Linked DNA regions of Homo sapiens: all the other regions are linked to region 1. The links are contacts of gene promoters, found by promoter capture Hi-C in blood cells and fetal thymus (Javierre and others, 2016). All regions are on one chromosome and are shown on one strand. The core of a region is centred on a gene start or on the middle of the fragment in contact, and the rest is flanking DNA. Distances in the headings are between cores, read along the strand shown. Region 1 holds the start of ADRB2 (adrenoceptor beta 2). Region 2 has its middle 5.4 kb from the start of AFAP1L1. Region 3 overlaps FBXO38 (F-box protein 38).

Evidence for each region. Contacts are between HindIII fragments. The CHiCAGO score rates a contact against its expected background, and 5 or more counts as called.
Region 2: a fragment that was not itself captured here is called in contact with the fragment with the promoter of ADRB2 in region 1 in 3 of 17 cell types (non-activated CD4 T cells, naive CD4 T cells and total CD8 T cells); the score reaches 8.7 in non-activated CD4 T cells.
Region 3: a contact is called between a fragment that was not itself captured here and the fragment with the promoter of ADRB2 in region 1, in 1 of 17 cell types (naive B cells). The highest score is 5.0, in naive B cells.

The regions. Positions count from the first base shown.
Region 1 is chr5:148,824,828-148,829,231 of GRCh38, reverse strand. It overlaps ADRB2 (adrenoceptor beta 2), which reads right to left and starts at 2,621. Exons shown (of 1, transcript NM_000024.6): 1 at 609-2,621. The coding sequence starts at 2,400. The coding sequence ends at 1,159. RefSeq lists enhancers at 1,721-2,306, 3,163-3,322 and silencers at 2,353-2,492, 2,583-2,892. The HindIII fragment of the contact is 9,818 bases long and covers 1-4,404 here.
Region 2 is chr5:149,264,228-149,268,631 of GRCh38, reverse strand. No RefSeq gene overlaps it. Among named protein-coding and RNA genes, the nearest start is that of AFAP1L1, 5.4 kb to the left of the region's middle. The HindIII fragment of the contact is 594 bases long and covers 1,510-2,103 here.
Region 3 is chr5:148,388,897-148,393,300 of GRCh38, reverse strand. All of the region lies in intron 1 of FBXO38 (F-box protein 38), which reads right to left. Among named protein-coding and RNA genes, the nearest start is that of FBXO38, 7.1 kb to the right of the region's middle. The HindIII fragment of the contact is 522 bases long and covers 1,864-2,385 here.

The DNA.
Region 1 (4,404 bases), core at 1,372-3,871:
GACCAAAGGAAAGAAGGAAAAGGGGTTAAAATTCTGTTTCTAGTTCATGAGGTATCCATCAGTTATGTGTTCTCCAGCTTTTCTCCCCATGACCAATGCCTTTTGAATTTTCCCTCAGAATTACGGGGCCATGTCTGAGTAGCTTCCTCATAAGAACATCTTCCTTATCCCTAAAATGCCAAGCCCTGATGCAGTACAAAGAGCTCCACTGTAACACATGGCCAAGACAGAAATATAAACAGTTTTGAAACAAGTAGAACTGGAAGGTGGGTGGTGGGTGCACGTGGAGAGAAAAAAACATATCCCCTTAACTCCGCTTCTGTGAGTCAGTGTTTCTGAGGTAACAACACAGAACAATAACCATAGGGAGAGTTGAGCTATACTAAGAGCAGGCAGAACTGATTTGGGGCACAAGTGTCAGGAGAGATGCAGCTTTGCAGCAGCAGACTCAAAGGCAAATGAAAGGGTTAAGCAATCTGTGCATGTCATTCTTGTATCATTCTACATTAAGTCATGGGCAGTAATTACAAGTAGTTACCTGCGGTTTCCAGTGGGGGAGGCAACAGCACTCCAGTCAAGGGGTTTTGGAGAAACAGGTGCAATGAAGGCATGGTCAAACAATTTATTTACTGTAAACTTTAGACTTTGCTCGGGAAAACAACTGAAGCTGCTCCTCAAATCCCTGCCTAAAATACCCCGTGTGAGCAAATAAGAGGAGTGGGGGAAGAGTCCATGTTCACAGCTGAAAGGTCCGAGATACTCAAAATCCTCAAGTCCAAGGGTGTAGGAAGGAAAATCTCCTTCAGATACAAATTACCAGCAGCAATATATTACCCCTAATACTTGAATAGTGAGGTAGATACATGGAAAAGTCATGAAAATATAGCAGACTCAGGTCCTCTAGGACTAAAGCTCTTTAGACATAAACTTACAAATTCCATGCAAAGAGGAACTGAACTGTACAAATAACAAATAATCACTCAAATAAGTTTTCTCTCTTTTTACAGCTTAAAAAAATAAAAAAGGCAGAAGGATGCCCTTCCTTCTGCATATCTCTATACAATTTTACAATTTTATTCTAAGTTTATTACCCTCAAGTTAAATAGTCTGTTTAGTGTTCTGTTGGGGGGGGGGGTCTTTAAAAGTAGAAAAACTGCTTTACAGCAGTGAGTCATTTGTACTACAATTCCTCCCTTGTGAATCAATGTTATCGCTAGGCACAGTACCTTGATGGCCCACAAAGTCTTCCGTGCCTGGGAGGTCTTCACACAGCAGTTTATTTTCTTTCTCCTGTTCCACGTGATATCCACTCTGCTCCCCTGTGTTGCCGTTGCTGGAGTAGCCATTCCCATAGGCCTTCAAAGAAGACCTGCGCAGGCACAGAAGCTCCTGGAAGGCAATCCTGAAATCTGGGCTCCGGCAGTAGATAAGGGGATTGAAACCAGAATTGACATAGCCTATCCAATTTAGGAGGATGTAAACTTCCTTACGGATGAGGTTATCCTGGATCACATGCACAATGTTAACGATGAAGAAGGGCAGCCAGCAGAGGGTGAAAGTGCCCATGATGATGCCTAACGTCTTGAGGGCTTTGTGCTCCTTCAAGCAGAACTTGGAAGATCTGCGGAGTCCATGCCCCGTCCGCCCATCCTGCTCCACCTGGCTAAGGTTCTGGACATGGAAGCGGCCCTCAGATTTGTCAATCTTCTGGAGCTGCCTTTTGGCCTCCTGAAAGACCCTGGAGTAGACGAAGACCATGATCACCAGGGGAACGTAGAAGGACACGATGGAAGAGGCAATGGCATAGGCTTGGTTCGTGAAGAAGTCACAGCAGGTCTCATTGGCATAGCAGTTGATGGCTTCCTGGTGGGTGGCCCGGTACCAGTGCATCTGAATGGGCAAGAAGGAGGTAAGGCCTGACACAATCCACACCATCAGAATGATCACCCGGGCCTTATTCTTGGTCAGCAGGCTCTGGTACTTGAAAGGTGAAGTAATGGCAAAGTAGCGATCCACTGCGATCACGCACAGGGTCTCAATGCTGGCCGTGACGCACAGCACATCAATGGAAGTCCAAAACTCGCACCAGAAGTTGCCAAAAGTCCACATTTTCATAAGAATATGGGCGGCCCCAAAGGGCACCACTGCCAGGCCCATGACCAGATCAGCACAGGCCAGTGAAGTGATGAAGTAGTTGGTGACCGTCTGCAGACGCTCGAACTTGGCAATGGCTGTGATGACCAGCACATTGCCAAACACGATGGCCAGGACGATGAGAGACATGACGATGCCCATGCCCACCACCCACACCTCGTCCCTTTCCTGCGTGACGTCGTGGTCCGGCGCATGGCTTCCATTGGGTGCCAGCAAGAAGGCGCTGCCGTTCCCGGGTTGCCCCATGGCGCGCAGTCTGGCAGGTGAGCGCACTGGCTGGGGGCGCCTCAGCGGGCGGACCCACGGCGGGGCTCTGCGGGCCGCGAGCGGACGCCTGGAAGCCTCATTCAGCGGCTGTGGTGTGGGTGTGGTGGGGACTCGTCCTGCACACTCAGCTTGTCGGGTGCTAGGGGCTCGCGGTGCCTGCCAGTTCCAGCCCGTGCTCTGAAGAAGCCGCTTCGCAGTGCGTTCTGCCCGTTATGTGCACAGGACTTTAGGGGAACTGCCCTCGCCGTGACGTACGGGAACTTTCGGCCAATGGCACGCCGGCAGCCGCGAAGGGGCGAGGCACTCCTCCCCTTTCCCTCCCCTCCCCTCGCCCTCCTTCTCCTGGGGCTGGCCCGGGCGGGGCCCAACTGCTCCCTGGAGGGCGGGCCACCACTGCTTCCCGGCTACCCTGGCTGGCCCCAGAGGGCTAAAGCTGGAGGTGGTGTCCTTACCAGCCAACCCGGGAGCTTTTGGCTCTTCTGTGGCCGCTACCTGCCTGCCCTGGGCGCCTGCGCGGCTTGAGGTCTCAAGGCAGAGGGCAGCACACCGGCACTGCCCCACATTCGGAAGGAAACGAGAGTGCCCACCGAGGCACGCACATACAGGCACAAATACACCCTGGCAGACATGCTCAGACTTATACCGAACCACAGCCATAGACACTGAGACACACCCTCCCAGCTCACCGACATGCACACTCGCGCGCGCTCTCACACAGAAGCCATCCGGCACAAAGTCACCCCTGTCCAACACAGAAACGCGGCCAGAAACAAACACAGAAGCACCCAGAAGCACAAAGACATGGTGACACACACAGAAAGTAAACACACGCTGGCTTGGAGGCATCCAGAGCGACACAGACACGGATGTCTCCATCTGGGTACTCCGAACTTGCCTCACCCGAGCACTGATAATGCTCCCCTCCCAACATACACCCGGTAACCCAGTGTATTCCCTTTCAAACATTTGGCAAGAGCACAGGAGGTGACTTCAACAGCTGCTGATTTCCTCAGCACACTCGCTGTCAAGTACTTTAGGTGCCCTCCTTAGGAATTTGCAGGCATGAAGACAGTTTTACCCTTTGGATTTTATCTGGAGCGGGGGTATGCAAGTATGTATTTTGGGACAGAGAGAGAAAGTTGTGTGCTTTTGTTTTAATTTTTTTGTTGTTTTGTTTTTAACTCTTGAGAGTGTGGCATCACTCACTCATTATCTGTTGAACTGGAGATGCAATGAGAATTCAAACAATTTCTTCAGTAAACCCAATGAAACTAAAAAAAATCCTTTCATCTGCTGGATAGTTTGTTAATCTTTCGGGTTGTGCCATGTGAAATTGCCACCATCTGGCGTCTGTGACTTACCAAAATGGCAAATTCATATGGTTCAGAGTATTAAGAATGTCTTAACATTAAGAACATTTTGAAGCTATAGAAAGCAAAAGATCCTGGCCAATATGGTGTAACTCTTGTCTCTACTAAAAATACAAAAATTAGCCAGGTGTGGTGGCACGTACCTGTAGTCCCAGCTACTCGGGAGGCTGAGACAGGAGAATCTCTTGAACCCGGGAGGTGAAGGTTGCAGTGAGCCGAGATCACGTCACTGCGCTCCAGCCTGGGTGACAGAACAAGACTCCATCTCAAAACAAAACAAAACAAAAAACACAAGATAATTCTCCCTTAAGAAAAAGAAAAAAGTAAGACCAAATCTCAAAAGTAAGATCTTTGTTCATGAAATACTATCCTTTCCATCTGGCATGTGACTTTACTGCTAAAGTGAAATTAATTTTCAGGGTTTGATTTCCCATGTATTAGTGGTGTCTTTGAAAAACTGAAAGTATTTCATGAAGTGTAACTAAACGTACTTTGTAGATTACATAATAACATAACAATGGTTAACATTTATGGACCATTCTGCTATTTGCTTTTCATGCATTATTCTATTTAATCCTTCCCACAGTCCCATGGGGGTGGGGACTATTTTTAG
Region 2 (4,404 bases), core at 557-3,056, 440 kb before region 1:
TCAGGTTGGCTGGATCGTGGGTTATTGGGGGATAAGCATCAGGGCAAGGATAGGAATGAAGGTTGTGATACCTGCTTTTCTCTTCCCCTTTCCATTTCATTTTGAGTGCAACTCTCTGGCAAGGATTTTTAGAATCTGCCTCATATCTTCCTTTTCACTACCTACTTTGCTGACTTCCAAGTTTTCCAGGTTTGCCTGGATTTTGTCTAAAGAATGCTATGTGGGGAGCTCCAGCTCTGTAAGAAGGTATCAAATTTAGCCTTAGTGAACAATACCAGGAAGAAAGCTTTCAACTCCCTCCTGCTCCCTGTCTTGTGAAAACAAATGATACTCCCTAGTCTCATTCTTCGCTTATCAGGTGGAACTGGGAAACCCTGGGAAAGAAAAATTTGGAGGCTCAGGACTATTTGTTCCAGGGAGAGAAATATACTCTAGCCTCCTAACCTGTCACCTTACCTCTAGGGACTGTTTCCACCATGGCCAACAGAGCGACCATTCCATGATCCCAATCAGACCGTGCAACTACCCCCTTAAAAATATGTGATGGCTCCCCGGGCCCTCAGCGGAGAGTCCAGATTTCTTATTATGGTGTTTGGGGTGCCTTCTTCACTGAGCCTGCAGTGATCTCAGGAGACTTCAGGAAGAGTAAGAAAAACAACAGATGGGTGCTCAGATCTGGGTTCCTAAGTCAACTTCATTGCCGTGTGAATCTCAGTTCTTCCACTGGGTCAATAGTACATAATTTCTTATGTGCTTCTTTACCTATGCTTCCCTGTCCCCCACCAGACTGCAAATGCTGTGAGAGCGGGCGCTGTCTTACTCATTGCTAGATCCTTAGAATCTAGCACAGTGCCCAAACACCTAGTAAATGGTAATAGTATTTGTGGAATGAGTCAGTGAAAACATACTCAAGGGTGTGTAAGGCCTGCCAGTTTTGGCTTCTATTAATGCATGTGTCCTGGGGGTCCCATTTGTCCTCTGGGATTGTCGTATTTGCTTATTTATTTGCAGGGGGAAATGAACTTGTGACCAGGCCTTCTGGAGACATGCTGCTGTGCTGCCCAGCCCCTGTGTGCTGCTGTGGATGTGTGGCTTCTCCTTGGCTCAGGGCCCCTCTCCCATGCTCCTTTGTGTGGGGTGATCCCCAGAGCCCTCTGATCGGGTGTCTGCCTGATGCTGGCTGCAATGAAAACCTCTCTTGTTCCACTTAGCACAATGTTGCCATTATAGCCCCTATCCAGGGAAATGACACACGTCTGCTGGCCCACCCTGGGCCCCGGAAAGCAGATAGAGATCTCAGTGGCTGTTTCTGGGAGAAAGAGAAAGAGTTTCATGGATGGATGAAAACTCCTTCTTCCCATGCGCCTTCAGGTTTCTGCTCCAGGGCACGGGGCTCCTACTTGCATGGAGGCAACAGGGCTCAGCTTCCACAGTTGTTAAAACCAAGCCCAGTGGTTGTGTCTGAAGGAAAAGGAGCTTTTGTTTTATGCTGAAATGCTGCATGAAGCTTACTCCATCCCTTTGGATTCTTCTCCTTAAGCGAGATCTTAGGCTCCTGAAGCGAGGCTCGTGCCCTGAAGCACCTACAGGGCCGGGCAGGGAAGGGTGTGCAGGAAGCAGGCCATGCAAGTGGAGGGGCCACAGCAAAGCGGAGCCCTCTTGCTCCGTCTGAGGGGCCAGTCACCAGTCAGCTTGGAAATGGAGTGGCCAATCTTCAGCTTTTTCAGCAGAACCCAGAAATCTAGATTTCAGTGAGAAATCTCTTTTGATTTAAAAGTGTTGGTAATGAATTCCAATTGTTTTAAACATTGCAGTAGCCAACTAAAACACCCCTGTGAACTTAATCTGGACTATAGCCACCCCCAGGCCCCAATGTGGAAACTTGAGGGAAATTAGGGACCCATGAAGACATCTGGAGGGTCTGTCCAGCTGGGGGCCTCCACGCTGAGGCCTGAGGAGGGTGTGCAGCTCCTAACACTGCAGCGTGGACTAACTCTCTTCTGAAGATCTGGGCTGCACGCCCCTAGCTTCATCTGTGGCTGCAGGCTGGTGCCAGGTTGCAGAGGTCCAAAGTGGATTTTATAACCTGGAGCTAGAAAAGCTTTAAAGCCCCCCAAAACCTGAGACATTAGCCCATCTGGTCCCTTCATTTGTCAGTTGGGGAAACTGAGGCTGAGAGAAGGGGAGAAATCTTACCTGAAATCACAGAAGGCCTTAGAGCCAGAACCAGGAGCAGTGATGCCCTGATATGAGGTCACCTGAGCCACTCTGTTCAGTGTGTGGGACACAGTGGTGAAGAGCATGACTTTAGGACAAGGTGGATCTGAGTGTTACCCAGCCCCGCCCCTGCACAGTCCAGGCACGATCTTCAACCGCTCTGAACCTCAGATTCCTCATCTAAAAATTGGGGCTACAAACATCTTCCCCACACAGCAGTTGTGATGCTTCAGTGTAACTGTGCATGTAGAGTGTGGAGTGGCTGATGCCATGCCAGCACATGGTACGTTTTCTTCAAATGCCAGCTGGCAGTATATTCAGGGAGGAGATTTTGTATGATATAGCCGAGTGCACGGGCTTTGGGTGAGGCATCTCTAAGATCAAGTGCAGGCTCTGCCACATACAGCTGTGAAACACTGGATGAGTTATTTATCAAGGGCCCAATTTCCTCATCTGTAAAATAAGGATGAAAGTAGTACCAGGGGGTTAAATGAGATCTGTAAGGTGCTTAGCACAGTGTCTGAGCCATGGTCAGAAGTGTTGGTTATTATGTAATCAGTGTGGGTTTCCTCTGAAGAATTCGTCAGATGTTTATGGAAAAATATTAAGGGATGCTGAAACCGTGGCCACATACCCAGGCTGCCCCCTGCAGGGAGTTTTATATAAATCCAACCCCTGGAAATGCAACTGATTCTGCCAGGTTCCTCCTTCCCTGAAGGAGCTCCCAGTGCTCCCGGATGGGAGGACTACCAGGCCTCCAAATGCTGCTACCCACGGAGTCTGCAAAGGAGTGGTGTTTTGTATGCACATTTAAAAACGTTACATAGTCCCATTATTTTGTTACAATGACAGATTGCTAGGGCCAGATGGACAATTTGTCCTGATCCAGGTGGGCAAGACCCTGTGCCTTAGGGAGGCAGTCACGCTTCTTTTGTATGACAAGGAATTCTGTATCCATAAGGAGGTTTTGGAAAACCAGAAGGCTCTAGGTCTGGGCCCTACAAACACTTTTCAGTGACAGACTGAGGCAAGCTTTTACCCTTCCTATGTGTTCCCTAGTGATTCATGTCACACTGCGCGCTTTGATCGGAGCACATGCCTGCACTGTTTAAATTGTGGTCATTCTCCCTCACACAGACAGCAAAGGAACACATTCGGGATTCCGCTGCCAATATTCATTCACTCTGGGAGCCAGGGTATCTGTCACAACTTCTTTGGTTGCAAGTGATAGAATCACAACTCCAACCAGCTTTAATGAAAAAGCTCAAAGGGTAGCTGAGTAGCTGAAGGGGCGAAGCTGGTTTGAAGCCAAGCTTGGATCCAGGAAGGCAAACTGAGCAGTCGCTCTTTTCTCTCCATCTCCCGGCTCTGCCCTCCTCTGTTTAGTCTTCATCTTCAGGCCGTCTGTTCCAATCTGTGGCAGAGAAGGCCACACAGCTGCAAAGCCTGAATTCCTTACACCTGGAGATTCCAGGTGAGAAAGGCAGCCTCTCTCCCTGCAGTTCCAGCAGTGGCCCAGAGAGGCCCCCATACTCTAGGTAAACCACAGGCTCTAAGCCCAAGGGAGGTGTTGAGCAGTGAAACGCACGCCTCCCCTGCAGCCAGGCGCGCACCTGCAGCACACCACTTTATCAACTAAATGCCGCGACCTCTATTTTGCATATGTCATTTCATTCGTTTGCTAGGGCTGCCACAACAGAATTTCTGCCAGCAGAGCTGGTTTCCTCTGAGGCCTGTCTCCATGGCTTGTGGATGGCTACCCCTTTGCTGTCTCTTCACGTGGCCGTCCCTCCCTGCATGGGCTCCCTGGCTGTCACCACGTGTCCAAATCTTCTTATGAAGACACCAGTCAGATTGGATCAGGCCCTACCCTAACAGCCTCATCTTAACTTAGTCACCTCTTTAAAAGCCCTATGTCTAAGTAGAGTCACATTCAGAGGTACTAGGGGGTTAGGGATTCCAAATATGAAATGGGAGGGTGAGGACACCGTTCAACTAGCAAATGGCAAGGCTGAGACTGCCCTGAGGGAGGATGCGTCTAACCATGTGCCCTTACCCATGACGCTGTACTGTCCCTGCTGGAGCTCATGGCAGCATACCTGGAGGCAAAGGATTTACAACCCTCAGCAGCGGGGAATATGAGAGGCTGTATCCACTGAAAACCTTAGTGAGGTCCAGGGACCCCCT
Region 3 (4,404 bases), core at 875-3,374, 440 kb after region 1:
TCTTCCCTCACTGAAAGGTTATGTGCTATTTACTTCTTGAGGCTGTCAGCATGCTTGCCTCTCATCACACACACACACACACACACACACACACACACACACACACACACACCCCTCTTCTGTTGTTTCTAACCAGTACGGCCTGAGAAACCAGAGAAATCAATGTGTGTGGACTGGTATATGGGCTATGCTACCCTGAATTTGTGACATGTGTCTTAACTTCTCAGAAGCTTACTCCTATGTTGTCTATCACATTTTGGCTAAGAGGCCTCCGGAAAAATAAAGTTCATACTCAGAACTGCCCAAGCTAAAAGAAAAGCTATAAATAAACTCACCTGCTTCTGATTAACCACTGCCCACCTTTTCTTGTTTACTGCCCTGCCTCCTCCAAATGAATCTTTCCATCTTATGATAGCTCCTGAAACCTCTAAGGTTACATTGAACATGTAGTCAACAAATCCAATAGCCTCTTTCCAGTGCTTCCCCATCTGACCCATTTGTATTATGGGACACCGCTGACCACTCCTTTGAAACCCTCTCATCCTTTGGCTCCGAAAGTGATATTCTCGATTCTTGTCGTTCCTCTATGACCACTGCTCAGTCTCCTTTGCTAATTTATCCTCGAGCCCTCTTCTCCCTGGGCAATTGTACTCATTCCCAAGGATTTAGCTATTACAAATACACACACACACACACACACACACACACACACACACACAAAGAAAAGCAAAAAAAGAAAAAATTTCCAACTCTACTTCTTACCTCTCCTGAGCTCTGAACTTTATTTCCTCTGCCTATCAGAAATTTTCACCTCAATAACTTGAACATCCTTCAAAAACACTATGTTCAAAATGAACTCCTTCATATCACGAACCCTCCCCCTCCCCAAAACAAAGATACACAGATATATACAAATAAACACACCTATTTCCCTAATGTGTTTTACTGAATTCCTGAATTGTAAACCTTGAAATCATCCTAAATATATTCTGATTTCTCATTTCCCACAGACAATTGATGGGCTATTTTTATCAATTTTATCTCAATACAGTTCTTACATCCATTCCCATTACCTTTTGGGACTCCATTAACATTCACGTGCACTACGGAAATGGCTTCCTAAATGATACCCATCACTGTATCCTCAGGGTCGAGGAAAAGCTTAGCAGACACTATGCCTGCCATAAGTAATTTATTGAATAAATGCTTACCATGCTATACTCTATACTGAAGCCAGTTATCTTTTTAAAACAGTCTCCTGATTTATAGTGTTAAGTGAAAAAAGCAAAACACAGACTACATCTAAAGTATGATTCTAACAACAACATAATTTTAAAAATTAAAAAGATTACCCCCTAAAACTTTTTTTAAAAAGTATGATAAAAAAGACAAATATACTGTGTCTGCATACAACATTTTATGAAAGAAGACAACAAAATATTAACCGGTAACCTTTGAGGAGTGATAACAGAGGTTTAGGAAAGCAGAAAAAAACTTTTACTTTTCACTTCATATTATTCTCCATCATTTGAAATTTTCAGATTGTTTTTAAGAAGTACAATATACATGGCCAAGCAAAACAAAACAATCGGCCTACAAGGAATCCTGGTTCAGAGGATAAAATATTTCCAATCTAATCTCAAAACACCAGATGTTCCAATCTTATCTTCTTCCAATCCTTACCACTTGCTCTCAGTATACTCACTCTAGCAGACCAGTATCTTCTTAGTTCCCCCAAACAACCATTGGTGTTTCATTCCTAATATGCTTTTAACTCTGACTGGAAATGTCCTTCTTTTCCCTACTTTGCCTAGAAAACTGCCTGTAAAAATCTAGCTTAAATGTAAGTCCTCTGTAAAAGCTTCCCCTACTGACTCCTTCATTTGAGCTCCCTGTGGGACTTAACATATGCTTCCACAGCAGTTTGTGTAGTGATTTATTAGTCATGTTTCTGCTAAAAAATCTTGCCTCTAGGTGACAACAAGTCCTTGCTCACAATATATCCTCAAATATCTAATGTATGAATATCCACCAGTCTTTCCATTATTCTATATACATCCAGTAGCTTCGAGGCTGCTGCTAAAAACCATTTCATGCTCTTATGAGACGTTTGCTACCACAGCATTCAATGATCTCAGCAACAAACTTATAACCTAGACAATAATGCAATCAGATTTTACTGCAGTGACACACCTAACAGCTACTCTGTAGCATGTAAAAGCCTCAACAGGACGATTAACCAGCAAAGACTAATCCACCCACAAATTACCTAGATGCTCAGACCAATCCACCAGTTGTTATACTTTAGCACATGTTCAGCTTTAAGAATCTTGACAATCCTTCATCGAGATGATGCTCGATTCTTTATTCCTTTAATAAAAAGCTTTTTTTTAATCCCTTCTTCCTCCTTTTTCTTCCTCAAATTCACACCACCTAATAACACCTTCCTCTACTGATTCCACCTTTGATTGTTCCTTAGGATTCTGCAATGTGGTGCTTTTGTGTGAATTAGATTTAGTAGCCCTAGTGCACAAACTATACGTAAATTTTTAGACTAAATACCCTGCACCTTAAATATCATTGAGTTTATAAAACTCCACTTATTGAGAGTTAACAAATATTTACTCACAGAAATGATGTTATACAATATTATACTGAGGTTAGATCTCCAGGAAGCTGACAAAAACCTTCTTAACCTACAATATCCTTTAACACTAACTAGCAAAAAGCCTAAATTTTAAATTAGCAGGACTGACAAAATTTTAGGTAAAACTATTCCTGTTTCTTACATCACGGCTAGAATTGAAGACTTGGGTCTTTTAGTTCTTACCAGGCAGGTGAATAGTGAGGCCCCTACCCTAAGCCTATCGTGGGGAAGGAACTTGTGGAGATAAACACTAGGGTAAAAGAAAACATCTCTATCTTATATATAGGAGATTGACAGGACTTATAGCCTGGAGAAATCTAGCAGCCTTCTCAAGTCCAAGTAGATGTCTCTGAAAATGTTCAGGAGATAAAAAGCTTCCTCGGTCAAAAAATATTTTATTTTCCCCCACCCTTACTCAGTCTTGATAAAGGACAACAAAGTTGCTTCAGCTAAAGTTGGCTTCATCTTCATTTAAGTGAAATACCCAGCTGGGCTATGCTGAGTATTTCATCTCAGGTACTGATGAATAGGGACCTGGTTTCCCTATATGAGAAAGAACACTTGAAATTCACACACCACAAGTCCCAAGTAAGTGGTGATGGTACCTTTTTTTTTTTTTTTCTTTAAGACAGAGTCTCGCTGTGTTGCCCAGGCTGGAGTGCAATGGCGCGATCTTGGCTCACTGCAACTTCTGCCTCCTGGGTTGAAGAAATTCTCCCACCTCAGCCTCCCGAGTAACTGGGACTACAGGCGTATGCCACCACACCCGGCTAATTTTTGTATTTTTAGTAGAGACGGCATTTCACCATGTTGGCCAGACTGCTATCGAACTCCTGACCTCAAGTGACCCACCCGTCTCAGCCTCCCAAAGTGCTGGGATTACAGGCGTGAGCCACCACGCCCGGCCGGTATCCCTTTTTAATGTGCACCCTTTCTCTTATTTGCTTTTCTTTTTAGTTGGAAGAGGAACCAAAGAAAGTGAGGAGAAAACTGCCATCACTAGCCTTGTGTTTTTTTCTCACTCCTACCTCCAAAATACCACTTGCCACTAAACACCCTGCCTTCAACTCACTTGAGAAACTCAGTAATGCAGAGAACGTACAAAGCAGTAGTAGGTTAAAAAAGAAAGAGTAAAGGAGGGGAAAGTCCAGTTATCGGCATTAGAGAAAGATGACTTGGAGGAAGTCTTGCTGAGAAGTCATGGAGCATGAGGGACAGGTGAATACAGGTATACCTTAATTGTGATTCACTTTACTGTGCTTCAAAGATAATGTGTCTTTCACAAATTGAAGGTCTGTGGCAACACTGCGTCAGGCAAGTTTATTGGTGCCCTTTTTCCAGCAGCACATGCTCACTTCATGTCTGTGTGTCACATTTTGGTAATTCTCACAATATTTCATATCCTTTCATTATTATTATATGTGTTACGGTGATCTATGATCAGTGATTTTTGATGTTACTACTTTAATTGTTTTGGAGGTACCACAAACCATGCTGTATAAGATGGCAAACTTGATTGATAAATATGGTGTCGTTCTAACTGCTCCACTGGCTAGCTGTTCTTCCTATCTCTGTCCCTCTCCTTAGGCCTCCCTATTTCCTGAGACACAATGATATTTAAATTAGACCAATTAAGAACTCTACAACGGCCTCTAAGTGTTCAAGTGAAAGGAAGAGTTGAGCATCTCTCACTTTAAATCAAAACCAAGAAATGACTAACCTTAGTGAGGAAGTCATGTTGAAAGCCAAGACAGACC